Linked DNA regions of Homo sapiens: all the other regions are linked to region 1. Evidence: promoter capture Hi-C in 16 types of primary human blood cells and fetal thymus (Javierre and others, 2016). All regions are on one chromosome and are shown on one strand. The core of a region is centred on a gene start or on the middle of the fragment in contact, and the rest is flanking DNA. Distances in the headings are between cores, read along the strand shown.

Region 1 (3,394 bases), core at 782-3,281:
CCACTATCCAATCACCTCCCACTGCACCCCACCTCCAACATTGGGAGTTACAATTGAACATGAGATTTGGGTGGGGACACAGATCCAAACCATATCAAACACTGTTAGCATCTCCATTTTTACAGATTAGGAAACTGTGACACCAAGAAGTTAAGAATTTGTCCAAGGCAACACATTTTGTAAGTGGTGGCACCAGACTCCCAGACAGGAATCTAGCCAAGGGCCTGAGAATCCACCATTAAGCTTTATTTTTAAACATAGTGGAAGGCTCTGCATGACAACACTGACAACATCACTTCAGTTCTGCTCATTACATTTAGAGGTGTGTGTCTAATGCAAGCTAATCTCTTCTTTGAAACACCTAGGAAACAAAATTTAGGTCGAGTTGTACCTCATGTAGCTCCAAGATACTTCATTAGACAAGCAGCCCCTTCTCCAAGGCTTTGCTGCTATCTACCAAAAAACTGTCATTACAAAAGGACAAATGGCTGGTTCTGAGTCTGAAGGCACTTGCAGAACTGTGCTGTCCACATAGCAATAAGCAGTGCTCCCAAGTTCAAGAATCCTTTCAGTTATTACAGTAAGACGTATTTTGATATCTGCATGCATATAAAATTAATGAAATGCTTTATAGAAATGAAAATCTATGGATAATATGTCATTTTCTATGTAAATACCATCAAATTGGACTTTTTATTACCAAGTCCTCATTTCACGATTATGACTGACAAATGTGTGGCAATGATCCTCTTAAACATTTATATCTCAAAATTCCAGGAATTTTAAGCTATTTCCCTCTGCCCAAGAATGGACTTGAAACACTGCAAGCAGTTTTGTCTTCCATGAACATGACACAACCCACAAAATATTTATTATAGAGCAGGAAACCTCTTTAGTCTGCATCTTTCAGCATTTTTCCTTTTCTTCTTTTATTTTTTCTTAAATTTTTGAATTTGTCGTCTTTTTCTTTCTTTAAAAATAGACCCTAGAAACAGATCCTTTTCTTCTTTTGTGGTGATTTGCCCTTCTAATTATCTAATTATGACTTAATTTAATCTAAATAAATCTAAATGTTTGGGTTTATTATCTGAATATTAAAGATGAGAAGATAGGATTTGAACTCAGACCTGTTTGACTTCCAAATTCTGGTTTGCCCTACTATCCCGTAATGCCTCCTAGATGCCGATTAGTCTAAGCGGCTGCTCCACAAGGCTTTTAAGCATTCAAGAACTCTACTGGACCATTTGAGGGTCTGTTCTGGAGACAGACAGTGCTTCAAGTGCTGAGGGCTCAGGACTTCACCCTCCCAGGAGGTACACACAGTACAAAGCCTAACAATTTGTCAGCACATAATCAATTGAAACCACACTCTAAAGTTAAATTAGTTCCTTCCAAATGGGGCAGACACGTGCTGACCAATTAAGAGGCCCAAAGACTTGGGAGTAGAGGATGAATAGGAATAAATTGAGAAAGTATGCAGGAAAATTATTGAAGGAAGAATGAAGACGAGAATTCTCAATGCTAAGTTCTGGAAGATGCTGGAAGAGAACTGAATCCAAAACAAATATATTTATGTCAACTCATCATTGCTTACATTTTCTAGTCTAACAGAGCAGAACCATGAAATTGTTTGAAAAGTGAAAAGCCTCTTCTAAGTATACAAGCAGGGAGAGCATTAGGAATCGTAAATTAAAAGGACACAGGTCCTAGCAGAGAAGCAATGAAGCATTGGGGAAGAGGGTTTCTGGGGAATTTATGTGAACTTACAGAACTGTGGTCTGCTGTGGTACCTGAGGAATGTGGTCCAGCATCAAGTGCATGCAGCGGACGGTGCTCTTAAAGCAAAGGCACCGGCTGGGGCAGGGCAACCCTGGCAGGCACCACCCGGCCAGGAGAAAGAGAGTGGTCCAGCAGAACAGTCTGGGCTCCATCGCTCCATTCGCTGCTGGCCACGCGAAGAAGCAGCCGGAGGGAGAGCAGCAGCTGCAGCTGCAGCAGCAACCGCAGTGGTGGTGATGGTGGCTGCTGGACTGAGCCAAGTTTGGGAGCCGTGGTGGAAAGCAGCTCCCAGGGAAAGGACACCCCTCTGACCAATCCAGGAGGAGGGATATCACATTACAGGGCTGAGGGCACAAGCAGCTCTAGGAAGCACTAGACTCCCAGAGGCGAGGACGAGAAGCTTTTCAATGCAAAAGCCTCTTTCTAAAACACCGTGTTTTAGGCAGCATAATGCAAACAAACTTTTCCAAAATTACTTCCACTGCGCATTTGATGAAAAACCCGACCTCTTAGCCTCCAGCTGTCCTCTTGAAGCCCAAGTTGATTAAGAATGTATTGAAACAATGCAGAACAGCTTTTCTTCTTTTTTATCTGGTAACATTACCAAACCCTAAAGGGCAGGCAGAGTTCTAATTCGTTCATCTAGGTGCACATATTCTTTCTTTATTCCAAACTATGCTCTTTAATAAAAATTGTTTCATTTCCTTCTATATATTCTGCTGCTGAAACCCAACACATTTCACTCATGTAAGACTCAAACGGGCTACTTCTGATTTCTTCTTTTAACGTTTAAATTTATATGCTTAAAACCATGAACTCACATACCTCCTTCAAGAGGATACAACTGATGGACAAACCTAAGTATGTATATGTAAAGTCAAACAGATGCAAGCTCCCTCAGGACACACTGGCAGCAGTGGTCTTGCTGGTTGCAGACTTTTCATCAGCAGTTTGAACTGGCCATCTTTCCCTGAAGTGAGCAGCACCTCGTTGAGGACGTGTCTGAAAACTTAATAAATATGAAAACATCTACTTTTTGGTCATTCTGTAAGCAGGTATTTTTAAACAGATTTTTGGCTTTATCTTTAAAGACTAACATTTTCAAACAAAAATGTTTTAAATCCATAAAAGTAATAGAAAACAAATTAAAACTTGCATGGTCAATCCCAGATGATCAGACTAGTAGACCAATCTTAAGAGGAAAATAAGTTCATCCTTGTCTCTGCAGAAATGTTTCAGTCCCTTTACATTCTACTGTAGGCGAATACTGCCCTCTTTTGGCAAAATGTTCATATCTAAATATGTGATTTTGGGGAGATTAAAATGTAAAAAGATCTAAAAAACAAAACTAATCTCCATGAACAAGAATGATTTATTTTAAACTTTACATTTGACATTGTTCACATGACTTTTATTGTCCAAGTATACCAATAAAGCCAAAAAACGAAATTTATTCCTTTAAATCCCAACAATCACTATGCTCTTGGCAGTGCCTGTGATTTGGAGGACATAGACAAGACCTGCAGGTTTGTGCCTTGTTTGCAGTTCAAAATATAAAATACAAAAAATATAAATAATATAAAATATATAAAATACAAAAATATAAAAATATCTT
Region 2 (3,236 bases), core at 9-2,508, 210 kb after region 1:
AATACTAGGCACATTATATTATACTGTAGAAGTAAAGGAGAACTTTGTATTTTGCTTAGTCATCCTTTTATTTTCATAAAAGTTGAAGCTTATCGGTCAGCACATGCAGTGATACACACTCAAGCAAACACATAGAAAAACATCTCAGAGGTTGTGTCAAAGCGTAATAAAGCTTGTCCTCCTTTCTGGAATTAAATGAGCATTTAGAGAAATGTGGTTTGTGCCAGGCTGCCTGATCACAGAACGTCTCTGAGCCTGTCATGCCAAGCTTGAACAAACCAATGTGAAGATCCTCTTCAGATAACTTCTTTCTTTAAAATTTCATATCATTCTGCACCGACAAATATTCCTTTTTACTATCAATCATTTAAATATCTAATTATTAAATATTTAAAATGTTCAAAAAACACAGTGAAAAATGTAACAAGAACCTACCACCTGGATTTCACAGATGTCAGCATACTTCCATGAGAAAAAAATAGCCTTAGATATTTTCGTAGACATTAACAGACTTAATGTTGTGATTTTGTTGACAGGCAGTGGGAAGGGAATGATTCTATTTGATGTCAAATGGATGCGATATATCCATCTAATTTAAACACTGTTGATGCTATTTAAATATTTCTATGATATTTTCACCACATCTTTGTGATTTTAGGTTGTCTATTTTCCCTCTGCTATTGACACATTCCTTGTGAAATGCTACTTAGGATTTAGGATGTCTAGACTATGAACAATTTTATAAAGTGTGTTTTACAAAGTGAAAAAAATGTCTTTGAAAATAGTTCTGAAAGCGAGGATGCCTAAATAAATATTTTTCAAATCATGTTTTTTATATTTGCCACCCTTTCCTTTTATTCTTGGCATCTACTTTCTTTTGTTCTTAATCTTCTTTTTCTACCCTCAAACAGTCCTGGAAGATCTCAGTTGAAAACAATTCCATCTTCCCTTCGTATTCTCTTTCTTAGTTATGTCTACCCTAAGAGTTTGGGTAAGATATTAGGTTGTAATATATTTTCTCTGAATTAGATATGGTTCTAAAAGAAAAAACATATGTACCTAGATACCTACATATCATTCTGTAATGTATATATTTTCTAAAAACTATGAGATATAATTACATCTGTAAGATTATATCTCATAGTTTTTAGAAAATTAGAATTTAAAAAGCCAAAGTTGTAAAACTGGAATTAAAAAAACCAGAGTTGTAAAATTAGGTGCATTATTTTTGATAACCACTGTTTTGATTATAATTGTGTTACTAATACATAGAATTTAGTACTTGATTATTTTTCACTGTCAATATTGAGAATGTATTCATGTATATTCCAAATTAAAAGAAAACTAATTCTAATATATATATATATATCTATGTATTTCCCTCTCTCTCTCTCTCTGTCTCTCTCTCTCTCTCTCCTCTCTTTCTCTGGCCCCTAGGCTTATAATCTATATCTTTTACATTGAGAAAATGAAAGTTTCAGTTTATAATTCCTGCCAAATGACCACATTCAGCCACAGTCAGTATTTTGAGAGTACAAGAATAAATCGAGCAAGCAACATTGGAATATGCACTTGCTCCTTGCTTAGGCAATATTCCTGACTGGCCAAGAATGGATGGCTTTAGCACCCACTCACCTTCCTCAGGCCCCTTTTGATCAAACGTACGCCACCTAATCAGCATCTCCAATCTGTTCTTGACTTTCCATCTCAATAAGACTTTGTACTATTCTCACTCTGCTCCTCTTCACTCTGGCATCTCCCCTTTCTACCCATTTTCCACATAGCCAGTGATACTTTATATCTTATACAGCACTAATCTGACCATGTTCTGCTTAAAAACCAAGCTAGCATGCAAGGAATACAAAACTAATTTGGATGTCTTTCATGACCTTCATGAACCTGCTCTGGCCTGTCTTTTCAGCATCATCCTCAGGTACTCATTACAGCATATAGCCTACCACGTAGCAATTAGTCCTTCCATGAAAACTGTGTGTTTTATGTCTCTGTGCTCTTTTTGGCAAATTGTTTTTTCTAGATGCAATGTCTTTTCTTCCCCTCTTTGCTTGGCACAACATGGCATAATCTTCAAGGCCTAAGTCAATTGTCACTGTCTCTCCAGGAAGAAAGAATCATGCACTCTTCTGCGGCCCCATTGCTGTGTGTCCACTCTTAGAGCATTGTTCAAAGTATATGCAATTGGTACAAATCTAACTCCTTTGAGAAAGCCAAGTCTTTTATTAAAATAACACAAGCTTTGGAGCACAGAATTTAAATTCCAGCACTGCCACCTGCAGTTCTGAAGACTTTAGATACAACCTTTTCTATGCAAAGAGAATAATGTCTATCTTGGGGTGCTATTATGTATGAAGCAATCAATAGATGTATTGTTTGTTATCCGTACATGCTGTCCAGATTATGATATCTTTATGGTTCTATTCTTCCTTCTATTTTTGTATCCAGTACCTAGCATAGAGTCTAGCATGAGGTAAACTCTCAAATATTTATTGAATGAATGATAGCATATGTAAGCAGAGATTAACTATAGGCATTGGCAGAGAATGCAACTGAAATATATATGATATACTCTATTAATATCAACTCTAGCTGGACTTGAGGTATAGTTAACATGGAGAGAAAATTGTATCTTGTCATCTTATAATAAAGTATTTTCAATTTGACTTCTGATTAGGTAGGCAAACCAGAAACCCAAATTCTACTTCCTTGATTTACTTGTAGAAAATTATTTTCAGAATGAAACAACTGGCTTCTATCCTTTAAACTCAGAATTTATAACTCACAGGTCCTCAATCATTTGAAATTTGGTTAAATACAAAATCAAACCTAATTCAGGCCATTAATTACAGAGCTCCTAATGTTCTATTCAGCTTTGATAGCTATATTCTCTAGAAGAAAACAGCAACAATTGTAAAACAGTTATTTCTGTTGGCTAGGAAATTTCAAGTTCTTTGGGATTTTACCCAACTCTACATTTATTCACATATTTTTCCCTCTTGTTAGGAGTAAGGTGCATGGGGAAATTGCACAAATTAGCTTCAGCTACTTTGCATTCAGCATCACTAAGAGTAAGCCACGGCTGTGAAGCAGGAAGAGTGGACAGATGTCATTTTGCCAGCCCCGTGTTTGTTCCTCCTTCTGGTCATAGCACCCTCATTTTGCATTAGGGATTTAACCCCCTGCACTGCCTCAGTCTTGCCAGCACTGTAAACCAAGGCGTA
Region 3 (3,109 bases), core at 403-2,902, 230 kb after region 1:
TTGTATTAAATTTGCGAGGGACCCTCTTGAAGCCTACTACAGTGAAGGCATGATTGGATGTTTAATTATTATTATTTTTTTTTTGAGACTGAGTCTCGTTCTTTTGCCCAGGCTGGAGTGCAGTGGGGTGATCTCGGCTCACTGCAAGCTTCGTCTCCCGGGTTCACGCCACTGCCCTGCCTCAGCCTCCCGCCTCAGCCTCCCGAGTATCTGGTTGGACAGGCGCCGGCCACCACGCCTGCCTAATTTTTTGTGTTTCTTAGTAGAGACTGGGTTTCACCGTGTTAGCCAGAATGGTCTCGATCTCCTGACCTCGTGATCCTCCCGCCTCGGCCTCCCAAAGTGCTGGGATTACAGGCGTGAGCCACTGCGCCCGGCCCGGATGTTTAAATTTTTTTGAAATGAATCCCTCAAGCTGAGTCTATGCAGTATTATATTCATGAGCCACATAGCGACATTTCAGTCAATGGTGGGCTGCATATGTAATGATGGTCCTATTCTGTCTAATACTATATTTTTACTGTACTTTTTCTAGGTTTAGATATGTTTAGATACACAAATACCGTTGTGTTCCAATTGCCTGCAGTATCCAGTACAGTCCATGCTGTACAGGTTTGCGCCTAGGAGCAATGGGCTGTACCATATAGCCTGGGTGTGGGGTGGGCTCTACCATCTGGGTTTGTGTAAGTGTACTTTATGATGTTCGCAGTGTCGGAATTGCCTAACAGTGCGTTTCTCAGAAGGTATTGCTATCATTAAGCAACACATAACTGTAATTGAAACGACTTTGTGGAAATTATCTAATTTGGAGTGAATAACCGTACCAAGTTCAGATGAGTAAATCTCAAGGTAAATACTTGGAGAATGACTTGTTTAGTTAATTAGTTTGCTAGGGCTACCATAACGAAGTAGCACAGACTGGATGACTTAAGCAACAGAAATTTGTTGTCTCACTGTTCTAGAGGCTGGAAGTCTGAGATCAAGGTGTCAGCAGGGTTGGTTCTCCTGAGGGCTCTCTCCTCGGCTTGTAGAGGATGTAATCTTCCTGTGTCTTCAAATGGGCTTCCCTCTGTGTCTCTCTGTATCCTAATCTCTTTTTTTTTTTTTTTTTTTTTGAGATGGAGTCTCTCTCTGTTACCCAGGCTGGAGTGCAGTGGCGATATCTCGGCTCACTGCAAGCTCTGCTTCCCGGTTTCACGCCATTCTCCTGCCTCAGCCTTCCGAATAGCTGGGACTACATGTGCCTGCCACCATGCTCCGCTAATTTTTTGTATTTTTAGTAGAGACGGGGTTTCACCGTGTTAGCCAGGATGGTCTCGATCTCCTGACCTCGTGATCCGCCCGCCTCGGCCTCCCAAAGTGCTGGGATTACAGGCGTGAGCCACCTCGCCCGGCCCCCTAATCTCTTCTTAAAAGGACACCCGCCATACTGGATTAGGGCCCACCCTAATAACCTCATTTTAACTTAATCACCTCTTTAAAGGCCCTATCTGGAAATACAGTCCCTTACAAGGTACTGGAGGTTAGGACCTCAACATATGCATTTTGAAAGGACAGAAATCAGCCCACAATATTTAGCTTTTACAACTTAAATTAACCCGACAAATTTTGTGTCAGCCTAGAACTCTCAACATTTGGAACTTGCCTTGGTATTCTTCCGTTGTTTAAAATGTTCTCATTTCCTCTTTAGAGTCCCAACATTCAGAGGAACCAGATGTTTCAGTATCTTGGAGAGGAAACTCAAAGAGTGACAGATATTTTACAGAGGCAGGACCCCTTCACTGACTCAGGGACTGCACATGGCAAGCTCTGAAAAAACAACTTGGGGCTCCAGATGGGGGCTGGCACCCTCGCCTGCTTTCGGGGTTTCCTTCCTCTAAGACCCAATGCTTCTCTCTCTGTGCTTGGGTGGTTCACATGCAGGTGGGTAGCCCTGGACCTCTGTGCTTTTGTCAAAATCTTCTTTTCCTAATAACCTTAAGATCCCTCCCACTGCCATCCATGAGAGACATACTTAGCATGTTCCAATGTTTTATTTGCCTTTTCATTACTTTCCAACCCAAATCGAGAAATTAAAACACAAACCCACTTGCTCTACATCTCCCTCTCTCTCTGGACACTTTTTGTTCTACTTTCCCCAAATCCTTCTCTAGATGGTTGAGCAATAGACAATACTTGGTGATTCATTTCTGTCATTTTCCTTCTGCTTCACCTCCATGCTGTTGGTTTAGCATGATCTCATTACTTCTCATCTGCAAAGTTAACTGTCTGTCCTTTAAGTAAATTGGTCATTAATATCTCTCGTTGCTTTTAATTTTCACAACTTGAATTGGAAATGGAAATTCACTCTATTGTTGTGGTGAATTTTCCTCTACAGTCATCTGAGAGTCATCTGTGACATCTGCCTTCCCTCTCCATTCATGTAGTTTTCACCAGTTGCTATGGATGGCTCCTACCCCCATCTTCAACACACACCTTCTTTTCATTCCCGCTGTCACTGCCCAGTTCCCACCTGCATAATCTCCTGCCTGGATTAAGCCATAAAAGCCTCCAGTCTGGTTGCCACACCTCAAATATCACCCTCGCCTCAACACATTTGCTACAATGCTGGTGGAATAAAGGAATTTTCTAAAACTCATACCCAATGGGATGATACTCCTGCTTAAAATTCTTCAAAGGTTTCCAACTAAACAAATTCTAAAATCGTTTTCATGACATTTGAAACCCTTGAGAATAGAAATTGTCCCTATTTCTTGCATGTTTCCCAGTCACATCCATGCTAGGCTGTGCTGACCCCTGGCCCTGTCACTGGGAAGCCTTCCATGACCTCAGTCTGCCCTTCTAATTGACCTAATATGACACTTGCTTATTTCATACACTGTAGTCGATTATTTTTTACTTGTCTGATTTTCCTTCCAGAGTCTAGACAAGGAGCCTCAATGAGCACAGACTTCTCCCTTTAGATTGTATTTGTCTTTGCATATTTAACATAGAGTAAGTCCTCAGAACTTACAGTTGGATTAATACATATTTATAAAAATCTGAGGCCGGACTATATTCCTAGTAACTTTTAAAAAAGTTATATAATTATCAATAATTTCTTGAGTAA
Region 4 (3,014 bases), core at 374-2,873, 190 kb after region 1:
TTGTGCCCTGAGTACTTTTACCCTTGGCCTCTTCATTCAATTTGTATGATAAAGAAGAATGACCCACTTTGTATGAAAAACTTTCGCAATTTGTATACTCATTACAGAGGCAAGGTAGTATAATGGTTGAGAGGGTGTACTCTGATACCAGAGAGCCTGAGTTAGAATATCAGCTCTTTTGCATAATATCTGTGTGACCTTGGACAAGTTGCTTTATTTTTCTGTGCTTCAGTTTTATCTGTAAAATGGGATAAAAAATAGTTTCCATTTTTATCCCATTTAGTCCCATAGAATAGTCTTCTATGAGACTGTTCTAAGGATTAAAAGTGAATATATGTAAGTCACTTAGAACATTGCCTGGCACACATATTATTATTGTTTTATGTAATATGTTCTTAAAATTCAATGAGTTATCTCTTTAATATGTTTTTTTAATGTTTGGTTTTATAGATTGCGCCAACAATTCATTTTATTTACTTATTCTTAAGGTAGAGCAACATTATTTGTATGAAATAGTTGCACAATATATCAACAACTACTAACAACTCAAATATATAACAATTATAGAATTAATAAGTAAACCACAGAATATATTATAAATTAAAAGGCAGACATGGAAAAATAGATTCATGAAAATTTTTGTATTAAAAAAGACAAGAAAAAATAGAATAATGTTATTTTTCCATTGATTTTATATATAACTGAGTTCTTAAAGAATGGAATCAGAAAAGTTGTACTTTACCATTTTTAACATGGTGGATTATTATTTTAAAGGCAAAGGTAAAGAGAAGAGACACTGTGATTTATTTAACAACCATGCCAATTTTCAGGTACCTCTAAGCTCTTCCAGTCATGGGCATAGACAATGCCTGCTTTCACCGAGGCTGTCTGGAAGCAAAGGCTCCACCACCATAATTGCCACTGGGACCCACCCTAGTCTAAGGAAATGATTCCAAGACACTCTATTTTTCTTAAATGAAATAGCCCTTTGTGTCTCAACCTTTTGAAGGCAGCCCAACCCACCTATATTACAACACCACAGCTAGATTCAGATTTTCCAGCAAGATTTTTCCAATGAAGAACAAAGCTTTATTGTAGCTTAGATGACAGGACTCCAAAGAAGTCTGGAAAAGAGGAAAAAAAAGCTCATATTAAACAATAGGCAGTATAATGTAAGTTAAAATAGAAATTAGGATACCATTGATGAAAAATATTTTACGTTTTCGTTTAGGGCATGTACTAGGATAGGATGGGTGAAATATTTTAGAGAGTGTTTATTTCCTTCTGGTATAATTTAGGATCAGAAAACCAGCAAGATATCTATATCTATATCTATATATCTATATCTATATATATCTCTATCTCTATATCTCTATCTCTATCTCTATATCTATATCTATATCTATATCTATATCTATATCTATATTTTTTTGAGATGGAGTCACTCTGTTGCCCAGGCTGGAGTACAGTGGCACGGTCTTGGTTCATTGCAACTTCCACCACCTGGGTTCAGGTGATTCTCCTGCCACAGCCTCCCAAGTACTTTGGATTACAGGCATGAGCCACCACATCCAGCTAATTTTTTTTTTTTTTTTTTGAGACGGAGTCTCACTCTGTCGCCCAGGCTGGAGTGCAGTGGCATGATCTTGGCTCACTGCAAGCTCTGCCTCCCGGGTTCATGCCATTCTCCTGCCTCAGCCTCCTGAGTAGCTGGGACTACAGGTGTCTGCCACCATGCCTGGCTAATTTTTTGTATTTTTAGTAGAGACAGGGTTTCACTGTGTTAGCCAGGATGGTCTTGATCTCCTGACCTCTTGATCCGCTTGCCTCGGCCTCCCAAAGTGCTGGGATTACAGGCGTGAGCCACAGTGCCCGGCCTAGCAAGGTATTTTTTTTTTAAATGTGGGCAGAACATAGAGAACTAGGGATTTGGTTAACATGGGATTTAAGTAAAATACACCATTTCTCCAATTTTGACATCTAAAAATTATCTGCATTAAAATATTTTTAAAAGTGCAATCATATTCAGTGCTAGTATTGCGGGAACAAAACACATTTATATACAACTATCTTTGTTTTTAGCTAGTGTCTTCTTCAGCACATACTACTATCTTTTAAAAATTAATTTGTAAACTAATCTACAAATCGTGAAAATAGTGTTAAGCTTATTGTCATTAATATGTTGCTTAATCTTTGTGTTTTAAATATATAAACAAGGTGTTTACATTAATTATTTTTCTTTTAGCACATCAAACTTAGTATAGTAATATGGATAAACCCTGATTTGTATAACTTTTAAAATAACATTTGGAAAGATACATTACATTCCTTAACAATATCTCGCTGATATTTTTTTTTTCAGTTTTCAAATTAAGAGAAAAAATGAAATGTGACAACTGAGAAATATGAAAGAGTCTATTTACTATAAACTAGTTTACAGATTGAGTTAAAATAATGAGATGAGGAGACTTCTGGCAGACACACAGGACTTGTTTACATTTTGATTGCAGTTTAATAATTTGCTGATTGCATTATAATCACAGCAATATTGCATTTTAATCACATGCATACATGTGGTTAACTAAATTAATACCTTTAAATCACAATTTGATTTTTGCTAATACATAACCAGTTCTTTTTCTGTCCCTGCTCCAATGAGGATAATAACCAGTGAGCATGGTTTTGGATCAATTCTTTTTGGTAAACTCCCTAGCCACGTTCTGCTTCTTGCCTACTAAAGACATCATCTTTCACACAAATGTGGAATAATGAATAATGCTTCATAGAATAATATATAATAAACTGGAAGCAAGCTTCATTTAGCATAAACCTGCAATATTCTTTGTGTGACTAAAATCCACAATTACTGGAGCAGAGAATTGCCCTGCTCCTCTCAAATTGTGTGCCTTTCCTTCACGGTGCTGAGGCCGTTTGGTCTCAAGTGGGCAAGTGGTTGGAATGAGTCCTTGTAGAAGGGGGTCACAGGACAAGTCACAAGACCTTTTAGAATCTGC

The links. The method cuts DNA at HindIII sites, captures the fragments that hold promoters and counts their contacts. A CHiCAGO score of 5 or more calls a contact.
Region 2: a fragment that was not itself captured here is called in contact with the fragment with the promoter of PXDNL in region 1 in 11 of 17 cell types (total CD4 T cells, non-activated CD4 T cells, M0 macrophages and 8 more); the score reaches 7.5 in total CD4 T cells.
Region 3: a fragment that was not itself captured here is called in contact with the fragment with the promoter of PXDNL in region 1 in 4 of 17 cell types (non-activated CD4 T cells, activated CD4 T cells, total CD4 T cells and 1 more); the score reaches 6.5 in non-activated CD4 T cells.
Region 4: a fragment that was not itself captured here is called in contact with the fragment with the promoter of PXDNL in region 1 in 1 of 17 cell types (non-activated CD4 T cells); the score reaches 6.1 in non-activated CD4 T cells.

What each region holds. Positions count from the first base shown.
Region 1 is chr8:51,807,414-51,810,807 of GRCh38, forward strand. It overlaps PXDNL (peroxidasin like), which reads right to left and starts at 2,032. Exons shown (of 23, transcript NM_144651.5): 1 at 1,768-2,032. The coding sequence starts at 1,931. RefSeq lists enhancers at 1,405-1,927, 1,928-2,449. The HindIII fragment of the contact is 1,936 bases long and covers 242-2,177 here.
Region 2 is chr8:52,017,132-52,020,367 of GRCh38, forward strand. The region is part of intron 1 of LOC124901944 (a long non-coding RNA gene); the gene reads left to right. Among named protein-coding and RNA genes, the nearest start is that of PCMTD1-DT, 120 kb to the left of the region's middle. The HindIII fragment of the contact is 1,984 bases long and covers 267-2,250 here.
Region 3 is chr8:52,036,940-52,040,048 of GRCh38, forward strand. No RefSeq gene overlaps it. Among named protein-coding and RNA genes, the nearest start is that of PCMTD1-DT, 140 kb to the left of the region's middle. The HindIII fragment of the contact is 3,013 bases long and covers 147-3,109 here.
Region 4 is chr8:51,995,144-51,998,157 of GRCh38, forward strand. All of the region lies in intron 1 of LOC124901944 (a long non-coding RNA gene), which reads left to right. Among named protein-coding and RNA genes, the nearest start is that of PCMTD1-DT, 97 kb to the left of the region's middle. The HindIII fragment of the contact is 1,077 bases long and covers 1,086-2,162 here.